2 separate regions of the Homo sapiens genome follow, and region 1 is linked to region 2. Evidence: promoter capture Hi-C in 16 types of primary human blood cells and fetal thymus (Javierre and others, 2016). All regions are on one chromosome and are shown on one strand. The core of a region is centred on a gene start or on the middle of the fragment in contact, and the rest is flanking DNA. Distances in the headings are between cores, read along the strand shown.

Region 1 (6,776 bases), core at 1,974-4,473, 180 kb before region 2:
CATGTTTTGTGAAAACCGGCACTGATTCTATTTTGACATTCAACCTAAAGAAACACAGTACAGCAAAGACAATTTCTTCAACAGGATTATACGCATGCATTTTTCAAGATTCTTGATTTTTTTCTCAAGGCTTTTATAAATGTATACTGAGATACTTTCCCTGCAACATCTATGCAAAGAAAAAACTCACACTAAACATAGTAAGGTTACATTTATTAATTGTAGCCCTAAGCCTGTAAAAATAACGTTTGATCAATTAAGGTCTAGAACTCAGCCCACTGGCAGTGGTGATCCAAACAAAAATCATGTAACAGCTGGGCGTGGTGGCTCACCCCTGTAACCCCAGCACTTTGGAAGGCTGAAGCAGGTGGATCACTTGAGGTCAGTAGTTCGAGACCAGCCTGGACAACATGGTGAAACCCCGTCTCTACTAAAAATCCAAAAAGATTAGCTGGGCGTGGTGATGCATGCCTTACAGGTTACTCAGGAGGCTGAGGTGGGAGGATCGCTTGAACCCAGAAGGCGGAGGTTGCAGTGTGAGAGATCCCACCACTGCACTCCAGCCTGAGTGACAGAGCGACTCCATCTTGGGGAAAAACAAAAAAATCACGTAACAGAAGGTCCAACCCAATCCTTTCTTACTCTATTTTTTTCTTAAGAAGTCACCCTCACTCATAAATCAGTGAGGAGGGCAGGATGCCTCAGTGACTTCTTGACTCCTATATTAACTTAACTTAAAAGTGTATTAAATGAAGTATAAAATGAAATGTTGGTTAATTATCTCCCATAATATATAAAAAAGGCCAAATGGTAACTGCTACCCCCACTCTACCCCCGCATCCCCAATATAACAGATACCTGATTCGATCACTCGTCCCACTGTAACCCCAGCGGCTTTCTACTTGCTGGAATCTATTGATGCAGCATTCCTTTCCCCTGAGACAGCATCTTGGTCGGTCAATGTATTCAACTCGGGGTTTAGGGTTGACAGTAAAATGAAGAAAGAGGTTTACCACTTCACGATCTGACAAAATTCCAGATTGAGCAGGACCTGTGGAAATAAAAACATAAGCCTAAAAAAAGGAATTTGATTTCAATTCCTAACTTTGGAATTCACTTAACGTAAATTCAAATCTAGAGGACGTAACATAAAAATAGGGGAAAAAAATCTTAGCATATATAATTTTTGCATATATTTTAAGGTTTCAATAAATCCATTTGAGGTTAAACACATTAATTAAAATGTTAAAAGCATTAATTAGTCAAAACTTAGATCCAGGAATAAATGCTATTCCTCATGGATGCCAGGAATCCTCCTTTCTCACCTTATACAAAAATCAACTCAAGATGGATCAAAGACTTAAATCTAAGAAACCATAAAAATTCTAGAAGATAGCATCAAAAAAACTCTTCAAGACATTGGCTTAGGTAAAGAATTCATGACTAAGAACCCAAAAGCAAATGCAACAAAAACAAAAACAAATGAATGAGACCTAATTAAACTAAAAAGCTTCTGCATAGCAAAATAAATAATCAGCAGAGCAAACAGACAACCCACAGAGTGGGAGAAAATATTTGCAAACTATGCATCCAACAAAGGACTAATATCCAGAATCTACAACTCAAATCAGCAAGAAAAAAAAAACAAATAATCCCAGCACAAAGTGGGCAAAGGACATGAAGAGACAATTCTCAAAGGAAGCTATACATACGTGTGCATGTGTCTTTATAGCAGCATGATTTATAATCCTTTGGGTATATACTCAGTAATGGGACGGCTGGGTCAAATGGTATTTCTAGTTCTAGATCCTTGAGGAATCGCCACACTATCTTCCACAATGGTTGAACTAGTTTACAGCCCCACCAACAGTGTAAAAGTGTTCCTATTTCTCCACATCCTCTCCAGCATCTGTTGTTTTCTGACTTTTTAATGATCACCATTCTAACTGGTGTGAGACGGTATCTCATTGTGGTTTTGATTTGCATTTTGCTGATGGCCAGTGATGATGAGCACTTTTTCATGTGTCTGTTGGCTGCATAAATGTCTTCTTTTGAGAAGTGTCTGTTCATATCCTTCGCCCAGCAGACTTGGAACCAACCCAAATGTCCATCAATGATAGACTGGATTAAGAAAATGTGGTACATATACACCATGGAATACTATGCAGCCATAAAAAATGATGAGTTCGTGTCCTTTATAGGGACATGGATGGAGGTGGAGACCATCATTCTCAGTAAACTATCACAAGGACAAAATACCAAACACCGCATGTTCTCACTCATAGGTGCGAACTGAACAGTGAGAACACTTGGACACAGGAAGGGGAACATCACATACCGGGGCCTGCTGTGGGGCAGCGGGAGGGGGAAGGGATAGCATTAGGAGATATACCTAATGTAAATGACAAGTTAATGGGTGTAGCATACTAACATGGCACACGTATACGTATGTAACAAACCTGCACGTTGTGCACATGTACCCTAGAACTTAAAGTATAATTAAAAAAAAAAAGAAGATATACAAGCGGCCAATACACATAAGAAAAAATGCTCATCACTGATTATCATACATAGGCAAATTAAAACCACAATAAGGTACCACCTTACTCCTGCAAGAATGGCCATAATTAAAAAATAAAAAAAGAAAAATAGATGTTGGCGTGAATATGGTGAAAAGGGAACTCTTTTACACTGCTGGTGGGAATGTAAACTAGTACAACCACTAAGGAAAACAGTATGGAGATTCCTTAAAGAACTAAAAAGGACTGGGGGTGGTGGCTCATGCCTGTAATCCCAGCACTTTGGGAGGCCGAGGCAGGCAGATCCCAAGGTCAGGAGTTTGAAACCAGCCTGACCAACATGGTGAAACCCCATCTCTAACAAAAATACAAAAATTAGTTGGGTGCAGTGATGTGCGCCTGTAGTCCCAGCTACTCGGGAGGCTGAGGCAGGAGAATCACTGGAACCTGCGAGGCAGAAGTTACAGTGAGCCGAGATCGCACTACTGCACTCCAGCCTGGGCAACACAGCGAGACTCTGTCTCCAAAAAAAAAAAAGAACTAAAATTAGAACTACCATTTGATCCAGCAATTCCACCACTGGATACCTACCCAAAGGAAAATAAGTCATTACATGAAAAAGATACTTGCACGTACATGTTTATAGCAGCACTACCAACTGCAAAAATATGGAGCCAACCTAAATGCCCATCAACCAACAACTGGATGAAGAAAATGTGGTATACATACACCATGGAATACTACTCAGCCATAAAATGGAACGAAACAAAGGCTTTTGCAGCAACTTGGATGAACTTGGAGGCCATTATTCTAAGTGAAGTAACTCAGGAATGGAAAACCAAATACCATATGGTCTTACTTATAAGTGGGAGCTAAGAAACTATGAGGAGGCAAAGGCCTAAGAATGATATAATGAACTTTGGGGACTTGGGGGGAATGGTAGGAGGGAGGTGAGCGATAAAAGCCTACATGTTTGGTACCATTCCCCAACATGGTGAAACCCCATCTCTACTAAAAACACAAAATTTAGCCAAGGGCGGTGGTGGGTGCCTGTGATCCTAGCTACTAAGGAGGCTGAGGCAGGAGAATCACTTGAACCTGGAAGGTGGAGGTTGCACTGAGATGAAATTGTGCCACTGCACTCCAGGCTGGGTGACAGTCTTACTCTGTCTCAAAAAAAAAAAAAAAAAAACAGAATAGAATTGCATTCAAATGATAGATGGGAATAACTGTCAACCTTGAGCTTTCTACCCAGAAAAATATCCTTCAAAAATGAAGGCAAGCTGGGCTCAGCAGTGTGCCCCTCTAGTCCCAGCTACTCAGGAGGCTGGGGTGGGAGGATTGTTTGAGGCCAGAATTTTGAAGCTGTGAATAGCCACTGCACTCCAGCCAGGGAAACACAGCAGGGCCCCATCTCTTTTTTTAAAAAAAATGGTAAGATAAAGATGTTTTTAGACAAAAGAAAAAAAGAGTTGAGAGAATCTGGTTAGTATCCTACCTGTTTTAAAAGAAATATTGAAGAGAATTCTTCAAGCTAACAGAAATGTGCCCAGATAGAAGCACACATCTGGTCATACAGAAAAAAATGAAGATAACTGAAAGGGCAAATATATAGGCAAATCAAAAGGATTATTGACTTTAAAAATAATGTTTTGTGGGCTTTATAACATATGAAACATTAAAATACATGAAATAGTAGCACCAAAGGCTAGAGAAGGTTAAATATAGCAAAAGTATCAATAATGCCTTTATATTGTGTAGAAAATTTTAATTTAAAAATTTTAATTTTATTTATTTATTTAGAGACAGGGTCTCACTGTTGCCCAGGTATGGAGTGCAGTGGTGTGATCACGGCTAACTGCAGCCTTGAACTCCTGGGCTCAAGTGATCCCCACCTCAGCCCCCCAGGTAGCTGGGACTACAGGTGTGTACCACCACTCCAGGCTAATTTTTAAATTTTTTTTTGTAAAGACAGGGTTTCGCCATTTTGCCGAGGCTGGTCTTGAACTCGACTCAAACAATCTACCTGCCTCAGCCTCCCAAAGTGCTGGGACTAAAGGCATGAGCCACTGTGCCCCATCTAAAAAATTTAATTTTTAAGATTTAATTTAAAAATCAATAAGGATATATTCTTGTAATAACAAGGGCAACCCACTAAAATAATAATAAAAGAATCTTTAATACGGGAGGCTGAGGTGGGAGGATAACCTGAGCCCAGGAGGTTGACGCTGGAGTAAGCTGAGATCATGCCACTGCATTCCAGCCTGGGTGACAGAGGAGACACTGTCTACACCAAAAAAAAAAAAAAAAAGAAAAAGAAAAAGAAAGTTTAATAGACTATTAATCATATTAAATATAAAGTGAACCAAATATTCCAAATAAAAGGCAAAGTCTGTCAGACTGAATTTTTTAAAAATGAAGCTTACAAGAGACATGGTCAAAATAATGTAAGGCTAAAAGTAAAAGGATGAGAAAGATATAGAATTTAAAAAACCTTGAGAAACTATACCAATATCAGACAAAGACTTTAAAACAAGAAGTTTAGGCCAGGCGTGGTGGCTCATGCCAGAATGTTGGGTGACTGAGGCAAGCTGATCATTTGAGGCCAGGAGTTCGAGACTAGCCTGGCCAACATGGCAAAACCCCATCTCTACTAAAAATACAAAATTTAGCAGGGTGTGGTGGTGCACACATGTAGTCCCAGCTACTAAGGAGGCTGAGGCATGAGAATTGCCTGAACCCAGAAGGTGGACGTTGCAGTGAGCCAAGATTGTGCCACTGAACTCCGGCCTGGGTGACAGAGGGAGACTGTCTCAAAAAATAAAATAAAAAACAAAAACCCACAATAAGTTTAGATTTAAGATGAGATAGACTGTAAAGATAAAGAAGCAAATTCAATATAAAAAAAAATCCTAAATTTGAAGGTACCTAAAATAAAGAAGAAAATAAAGAAGAAAACTGATGGAACCAAAAGGAAACACATTCTCAATCATACCCTGAGATTTAAATCTACTTCTTTTAGTAACTGATAGAACAAAAAGCAAATCAATAGATAGATACATAGAAAATTTGAAGATCATTAGTATATATTCCTTTCATAGATATAGTATTCAATCTGTTGAACAGATACAGGACTATTCAGGTTTTTCTGCACATAACAAAGAAGAATACATTCTTCTCAAGTATACATGGATACTTATTACAACTACCGTATGGGCCAGGCACGGTGGCTCATGCCTGTAATCCTAGCATTTTGGGAGGCCATGATGGGTGGATCACCTGAGGTCAGGAGTTTGAGACCAGTCTGGCCAACATGGTGAAACCCTGTCTCTACTAAAAATATAAAAATTAGCCGAGCGTGGCACCGCATGCCTGTAATCCCAGCTACCGGGGAGGCTGAGGCAGGAGAATCGTTGGACCCCAGGAGGCGGAGGTTACAGTGAGCCAAGATCATGCCACTGCACTCCAGCCTGGGTGACAGAGTGAGACATTGTCTCAAAAATAAATAAAACAAAATAATAAAAAATAAATAAAACTACCATATGCTGGGCCAAAGCAGATATCAACAAATTTCAAAGCATTGAAATGATATAGAATATATTTTCTGACTATACTGGAATTAAGACAGAAATCAGCAAGAGCAAGATAAGAAGAAATCTCAAATATTTGGAAATTAAGTTATCTATAATTTATGAGTCAAAGAAAAAAAAAGCAAAAATTAAAAATTCTTAATCGAATGCTAATGAAAATACACATATTAAAAACTGTGGGGGGGAAGGATGCTGAGAGAAAAAATATACACTTAAATATATGCATTCAAAAAGAATATAGGTTGACCTTCTAAGTATCTCAAAAAGTCACAAAGACTAATAAAATAAATAACCCCAGCAAATTAAAAGCAAAGAAAGGAAAGAAAGTAATAAAGAAAAAGGCAGAAAGTAATGAAATGGAAAACATACTGTAATAGAGAAAATTAATAAAGCTAGAAGTTGGTTCCAGGAGAAAATTAATAATACAAACTCTTGAACACTGGGGGAAAAAAAGGAAATATTTCTAACTTTTGTATGAGGACAATTTTGACAATTTCATTGCAAGAAAAAAAAATATATATAGACTAATTTCTCTCATTCAGTAGTCATAAAAATACATTAAAAATTCAGCAAATTAAATCCAGTAATATATAAAAAGGATAATGCATAACAACCAAGTCTGATTTACGTAAGGAATCCAAAATAGGTTTAAATTGGGAAATCAATT
Region 2 (7,077 bases), core at 4,578-7,077:
AGAACTTAAGTCCCAAATGATTCTCTGAAAATAATGTGGCCTGGTCTCCAGAAATAAATTTATCACCTTCTTAGTAGATCATTGTCAAATGCAAAAAACCTGAAAGTGCTATGGATCAGAAAAGGAAGATTCCCAACAAATATTTATATTAATAAAGGGTATGGAAACACTTCATAATCATGTTTTAGAATTGCTGCAAATTTAATCTATTGCTAGAGATATGAAAAAACTATACCCCTGTGCCTTACATACAGTAGGTGCTCAACAAAAGTTCAGTAAGAGCTCAGCTCTTGAAGCTATATAAATAGGAAGGTCAAATGCTTTATTCTTATGCTTTACAAAGTGAGAGGTTAAAGAAAGCTAGATCAAAAATATGATAAGCAGTGATTTAATATTAAAGGAAGAGAAAGACACTGATGCAGGTAAACAAACCAGACAGGCTGAAACCAGAACTCAAAGAAAGTCTAAAGAGAATGCTCTAAAGTAGAAAATGAAGTTTCTATAATAAGTCAAAAGGGAATAGGAAGATGCAGCTTGGTAGGAGTGAGGACTCGAAGGAAAAAAAACAACTCACTGAAAGCTAAAAATAGTGAAATTTAATCCATGTAGAAGTATTAGTTCTCCTTTCTCCCTAACTCATATAAAATGTGTTTTTTAAATTGAGGTATAACTTTCATACAGTATAGTGCACAAATCTTAAATGTACAGCTTGATACATTTTTACATATGTACACATCCATGTAACACCATCCAGATCAAGACAGGGAACATTTCCAGTGCCTTCTCCTATTCAATAACTCCTTTCTACCCACTACAAACCAGTGACCACTGTATCAGTAATTTATTCCTTTTTATTGTCAAATAGTACTCCACTATGTGAATATACTACAAATTTGTTTACTCATTCTCCTGCTGATGGACATTTGGGTTGTTTCCTGTTCTATCATGAAGAAAGTTGTTATGTATGAGCATTCTTGTACAGTATTTTGGTGAATATAAACACTCATTTCTCTTGGGTATATGCCTAGAAGAGACTGCTAGGTCACAAGGTAAGCATATGTAGATTAAGTCAGTTTTCTTAAGTAACTATCAATACACTCTACTAGCAATATTTGATAATTCTCATATAAAGTTTTTAAGTGTAAAAAAGTGCTTTAGTTAAAGCACAATAATTTTGAGGCTTTTCGTTTACATTGTTTTCTGACCTTTTAGAGTAGGGGGTAACATAAGCAGAGTGCTCACATCTCAGCGGAAGGTTTGGGTGGGGTATGGGAAGAAAACAGAATTTTGATTTCAGTTTCTTACTCTTTTAGCTAAAAAGTAAATTTTACTAGTATTTTATATGCAAGTTGACACTATTAATAGTATTCTTATTCAGATGGTTATGTTTATTCACGTTGAGTATACTGTGATTTACTGCCATTTGGTGTGTGCCCGGTTGAGCAGGATTATGGAATATCTACTTCTAACTGAACTAGCTCTCACCAAATGAACAGGTGGCTAAAAAAAAGAAAGATTCCTACACAAAAATAATATTAGTAATGTAGATGCAAGCAAACAACAAGGTAAATGTCTAAGCTGACACTTCTATTCTAGAAAATCTCTTCGGAAGTTAAGAACAATGACCATCCATCTAGTCAAATCTCACAAGAAGCAGGCAGAAAATATTCCAAAAATTAAGACTTTAAAAAATATGAACTTAACCTATAAGTAATAATAAGTATTATTACTGTTAACGATATTGTGCAATGAAAATTTTAAAACATATTGTTTTCATCATGTCATCCCTTTTAGTTTCTTTTTGTGTTTATTTTATGCTGTATATAGTAGTAACAGAAAGCACATGTATATATAAAGAAAATTTAGATATATTAGTGATGTATGCTCAAATTATTTTACCAACAGGGTACACAAACAAAAGCGATCAGAGACTCGTTTTAGCCTCAGTACTTTTTAACATTAAGCTAGCTAATCCATAACATAGATGAACTTCTAATTTTTAAAGCCACACAAAATTAGGCATACTAGATGAGAAACAGCCAGCTGCTATTTAATGTTAGAATAATACATCTGAACAATGGGGGAGAAGGAAGGAGGAGGACAGGAATCTACCAGAAAGAGGCATGAGAGTACTTTCGTAGGCACTGTTCTATACCTTGGTAGGTATTATGTCAATGTATTTATGTATTTATATTATATATATGTATCACATATACTTATATATATCAGACATATATCATATAGAGAGCTATATTTATATTATACCAATGTATACATTTGTCAAACTCACCGAATGGTACAGTTAAGGTAAGTACATTCCATTCCATGTAAATTTTACCTCAAAAGAGAAAAGGATCCATTCAAAGTATTAACCACTAGGTTAATGGCATGCATGTGTCTAGGAGTAAATTATGGCGATGTGTGCAACTTACCTTGAAATGCATTAAAATAAGAGGAACTATTATGTAGATAGAGGGAGGATATATGAACAGATGCATGAAAGAGCAAGTAGAATGAAATTTAATTGTAGAATCTAGGTGTAGATAAATGGGTCTTCACAGTTCAATTTTTTAAACTTATCTATATATTCGAAATTTTTCAGGATAAAATATTGGAAAAATAAATCTGAGTTGAAAGTTGACAATAATTTAAAATAGTGTAGTGATACAAAGGAAAGTTAGAAATTCAAAAAGGAAAAAGGTAGGAACATACAAGTACCATCACTTGGTGCTTTTAGATACTCTGTATTTGTGAGGTGAGAATTATCTTTATTTTACAGACGAGTAAACAGAAACTTAGAAAGATTACAGAACATGCACAAGGTCACAGTGTGAAGCCCAGCCAAGAGCTGAATCCAACCTGTAGGAATTCTGAATCCTCTTGACCTACATTCCTCACAAAGGGCTGCCTAGGACCAAACATCTTCCCTAGAGCAAGGAAGTTGCTTCTCCATTCCTGTATGAACCAGCTCTAATACAAAGTGCCTTCCTACAACATGTACTCTGAAATCTGTTTCTTCCTGGTTTCCCTCCTAAGTTTGAGTCCTTGGCGCCCCACAGTATCTAATGCCCACATGAATGGCCTTCGTATCAAGTGATAATATTTGAAACTTCAATAAGCAAGACTTTTTTTCCCAGTTAGCATTTTATAACATTATCATCTACACAGCTATACCTAGGTGTAAGATGGGAATAATGCCTCATAGAATTGGGATGAAAAAAATGAAAACATATGTGAAGTATACGCACTGTAAAAAAGGGGACTCAAATCTTTTTCTAACCTTTACCTTTGGAAATTGCAGCATGCCACTAACGAGAAAATAAAACTTCTTTTTTTGAGTCTTAGGTTGTTTCTTGAGGAGCTCGTTAAATGTGAATAGATACAGATTTTTCTTTCTTGTACCTATTTTATCTAAAAACTTAATTTTGTTTCCTCATTTTATTTTCCATTTTGCCTTATTTGGAATTATCACTTCCAGGAATTTTATGTACAATTAGATATACAACTAGGACCACTTCCGTAGGATTTTTCTGTTTCACAAATTACTACAGGTGGCCAACCTGTACAGGCAACATATTAATGAAATTTTAAGTCTATTTTCTTTTTGACTATCAGAAGATATTTTTCAAAGGGAAGATTTTAAAAAGCCATTATGGTACTAGGAAATGACCAACTAGTAACGGTAACCTTTAATTGGCTTTGACTGTGTTTATACACATATGGCCCTAAAGCTATACATTTCTTACTTGGCAAACAGATTCGGGGATTTTCTGAAGTCACAAATATATTCAGGGACTCCTAAAGTCACAAATCTTGCCTCTCTAAGCAATACTGTATTACAGCATAAAAAATAACCAGTTATTCTACCTTAAAAACTTTGCCTTATCTTAAGGACAATCTACAGTTCAGATGCGAAGCTATTTTCAGTCTACTGGAACCTGAATAAGACTGTTTTTTCCTCTTGATATCTGAGGTTGTTAGTGTTGGAAAGGATCCTAGAGATGATTTTATAGTTGCAGCAATGGATATGCAGACAGTTGAAATGATTAGTCCATAACAGAGCCTGAACCAGACACCAGGTCCCCCAATTCCTGGCCTAGTGTTCTTTCCATTTGACAATCATGCCAAACCAAATATTTAAAAAGTGATTATGTCCATCCATTACTTCAACTTCACTAAATTTCAGTCTGGCCACTCGTGATGTCACTTCCTTTTGTGAATGGGTGTATTTTTTTTTCTTGATCTTGCTATCTTCACTTGACTACAATACAACATTTTAGAGCTCACACTATATTTATGCCAATTTTCTCCATGACTGTTTCCGTTCCTAAAGAATACCAATATAATCTCTAGAATGCCTTGACCCTCCTTTTCACAAGATTTCTTATTTCAAGCAATCAACTGCCAACCATACAAAAATAAAAATAAAAAGGATTTCTTCTAAAACACAAAGCACACATGGCAGTGTTGTGTGTCTTCCTCAAAGAGCTTAATAAAAATTGTGAATGCTATGTATTACATGCAGACGCTTTCTAGAAAAAGAGCCCAACGACAACCTTGTTATGTAGGAAGAGAGAGCTATTGTGGACTGTAGCAGGAGGCCAAGAATAAGGTTTGAGATTCTACCTAAAACAAATATGGAGGTGGAAAGGCACAAGAAGCTTGCTGGACCCACCAGTCAGAGGTAGGCTGCAAGCTCTCGGCTATCAGAGGTCGGTTTAAAAGAACGATGGGCACCAGAGAGGCACGTACCCCAGGACAATGATAGGGCAGGCGGGGCACCGGGAATCGCGCTCAGGGAAAACTCAACAAGTCTAGAAGGCAAAGAGATGGATGAATGACTGCCAAGAGGCTCCCGCTGGCCTCTGGATGACCACTACCACTTTCCAGGATTTACTGCCCGCCGGCACTCGCCGGCTCGCGGACAGCCGCTCACCCCGCTGCCGTACCTGCCCCGACGTTCGCCCGGGACCCAGGGTATCCACCAATGACCCTGCCCGGAGCCGAAGCCTCCGTCGCAGGCCCGCTGCCCGGCGGCGTGGCTTCCCGGTCGGCACCGGCTTTCCAGGAGGAAGGCAGCGTCGGGCCTGCGGGGGCCGGACCCGCCTTCGAAAGTGGGCGGAAGGATGGCCGCCCTGGCGGAGTGCGGGCGAGGCCGGGAGCCCTTGCCTCAGCCCCGGCCCGGTCTTCTTCGTGCCGCGCCGCCCTCAGCCCTCACCACAGCCGGCCGCGAGCTGCGGGCTCGGGGCTGAGGCGATGGGGAAAGGGGGCGGGCGCGCCATCATGAAGGGGAAAATGGTGGGCGGGCGGGCCCGCGCGCGGCCGCGGTACTCACCCGGGCCGGCCAGTGCGGGTAGCCCTTCATCTTGGCGAAGACCAGGTCGCCCGCTTTGTACTCGCGGGGCCGCGGACGCGCCATCCCAGCCGCTCCCCTTCCTGGTAGTCCTTGGTCGCCGCGAAGATGCCGGGAGGCCGCCCCCCCGCGGGCCGACGAATTGCGCCGCGCTCCCCGCGGGCCTCAAGCCGGGCGGACGAGCGGCCGCTCCGACGAGGGGAAGCGGCGAGGCGGCGGCTGAGGCAAGGGGTGGGCGGGGGGCGCAGCAGGCCCGGCAAATCACGGCCCGGCAGCGGGGGAGGGGAGCCCCCGGCCGTTCGGCGCTCGCCCGCGTCCGGCCGCGCCAAGGTCCCCGCCGCCGCCGCCGCCGCCGCCGCGCGCGCTGCTCACCAGCGCCGCGTCGCCTGCCTCATGCCGCCGCTGCCGGTCTCCCTCCCGGGCTCCCGGGCGCGGCGCGAGCGCCGGGCCTCGCGTCTGCTCCGAATTCCTTCTCGGGCAGCGACCGCAAACACGATCTTATTATTGTTCTCGCGCGCGCTCAGCATCCCCCCCCCGCCCCGCTTCCCGCTTCCCGCTCCCCTCCCCTTCCCTCCCGCGCGGGCCGGTTAATTCCTAGGTACACGGCCGGCTTTCGCGGAGAAACCGAGCGCGCCAGCCCGGCTTCTCGGCTGGCGGGCGGGCGGTGGGCGCGTCCTCCCCCAGCACCGAAGCCCGCGCCGGGCGGGCGGGAGTGCCTACTCCGGAGGACGCCCGCCGCCTGCTCTCTTTTGTTCTTGGCCCGGAGCTGCCTGCCGCAGCCCAGCCAATCACCACCCGGCCGCCCCCTTCCCCTCCCGTCCGTGCCACTCTGGGGGTTCTCCCCACTCGCGCCCCCCGCTCCCACGCCCACCTCCCGCTGACTCGACCCTCTCCTGGCTACCCCCAGCCAGCCACTTCCGCGGCTGCTCTCTGGTGAGTGGGGGACAAAGGCGCTCCAGGCCTGGGGGACGGCGGCGCGAGGGGACCCTCTGCTGGGCACCAAGCTGCCGGAAAGAGCACCGCTCCGGAGTCAGCGACCTTATTGGATTCTTGCCCCAGGTCTGCCCTTAACAATGCAGTGTGACCCACCTAGGGCGAGCTATTTAATCGGAGTCATGGGAGGTTTTCTCATTTGCTGAGTGGCACAGACGGGATTCGAACCTGTATCCACATGAGTCCAAAGTCCATAAGCGATTATGTTTCTCTCTGTGTGCGTTTTCTAGGCCTGCAGTGTTTGTGAAAAGGACTTGCACTGGCCGGTCACTTGTTTCCAATCCTGGCAACCTTTTGGACAACGTTTTTGAAATTAGCATCCCTTTCTGGAGATGTATGTACATATACAGTTCATTAGCTCTAGAACATGTTCATTTACCACTATTTTACTCTAAATTCCCTAGCTGGCTGCTTTCAAAGACATTTTGAGAGTAGGAATCTTCCTAACACTCTCTTTTGTGAGGAGTAAGTAGAATAATTCAAGGAATCGTTTGGAGTCTGTCCAATGAACGAATGCTGCTTCTTTAATCATGCTGTAACCCACCTCCTTTAAGGGGTCAGCTGGCATAGCTCCTAAATGCTGCTTTCTGTGGCCCTCACCTTGTCACACGGACAGTTCTCATTTGTGTCTGTTCTCTCTCCCTTTTACAGAAGCTACAGTTTTCCCCACCATCCGCCCCCCTCTCTGGCCTTGTAGAATGGTGTGTGTGTGTTTTAACTCCTGCTCTTGT

What was found. The method cuts DNA at HindIII sites, captures the fragments that hold promoters and counts their contacts. A CHiCAGO score of 5 or more calls a contact.
Region 1: a fragment that was not itself captured here is called in contact with the fragment with the promoter of HDGFL3 in region 2 in 1 of 17 cell types (erythroblasts); the score reaches 5.5 in erythroblasts.

The regions. Positions count from the first base shown.
Region 1 is chr15:83,029,278-83,036,053 of GRCh38, forward strand. BTBD1 (BTB domain containing 1) reads right to left here. Exons shown (of 8, transcript NM_025238.4): 5 at 859-1,051. All of the region lies in intron 1 of LOC124903542 (a long non-coding RNA gene), which reads left to right. Among named protein-coding and RNA genes, the nearest start is that of C15orf40, 21 kb to the left of the region's middle. The HindIII fragment of the contact is 3,430 bases long and covers 1,509-4,938 here.
Region 2 is chr15:83,201,996-83,209,072 of GRCh38, forward strand. HDGFL3 (HDGF like 3) reads right to left here and starts at 5,828. Exons shown (of 6, transcript NM_016073.4): 1 at 5,336-5,828. The coding sequence starts at 5,419. RefSeq lists silencers at 5,086-5,535, 5,926-6,265 and an enhancer at 6,126-6,739. The HindIII fragment of the contact is 15,661 bases long and covers 4,660-7,077 here.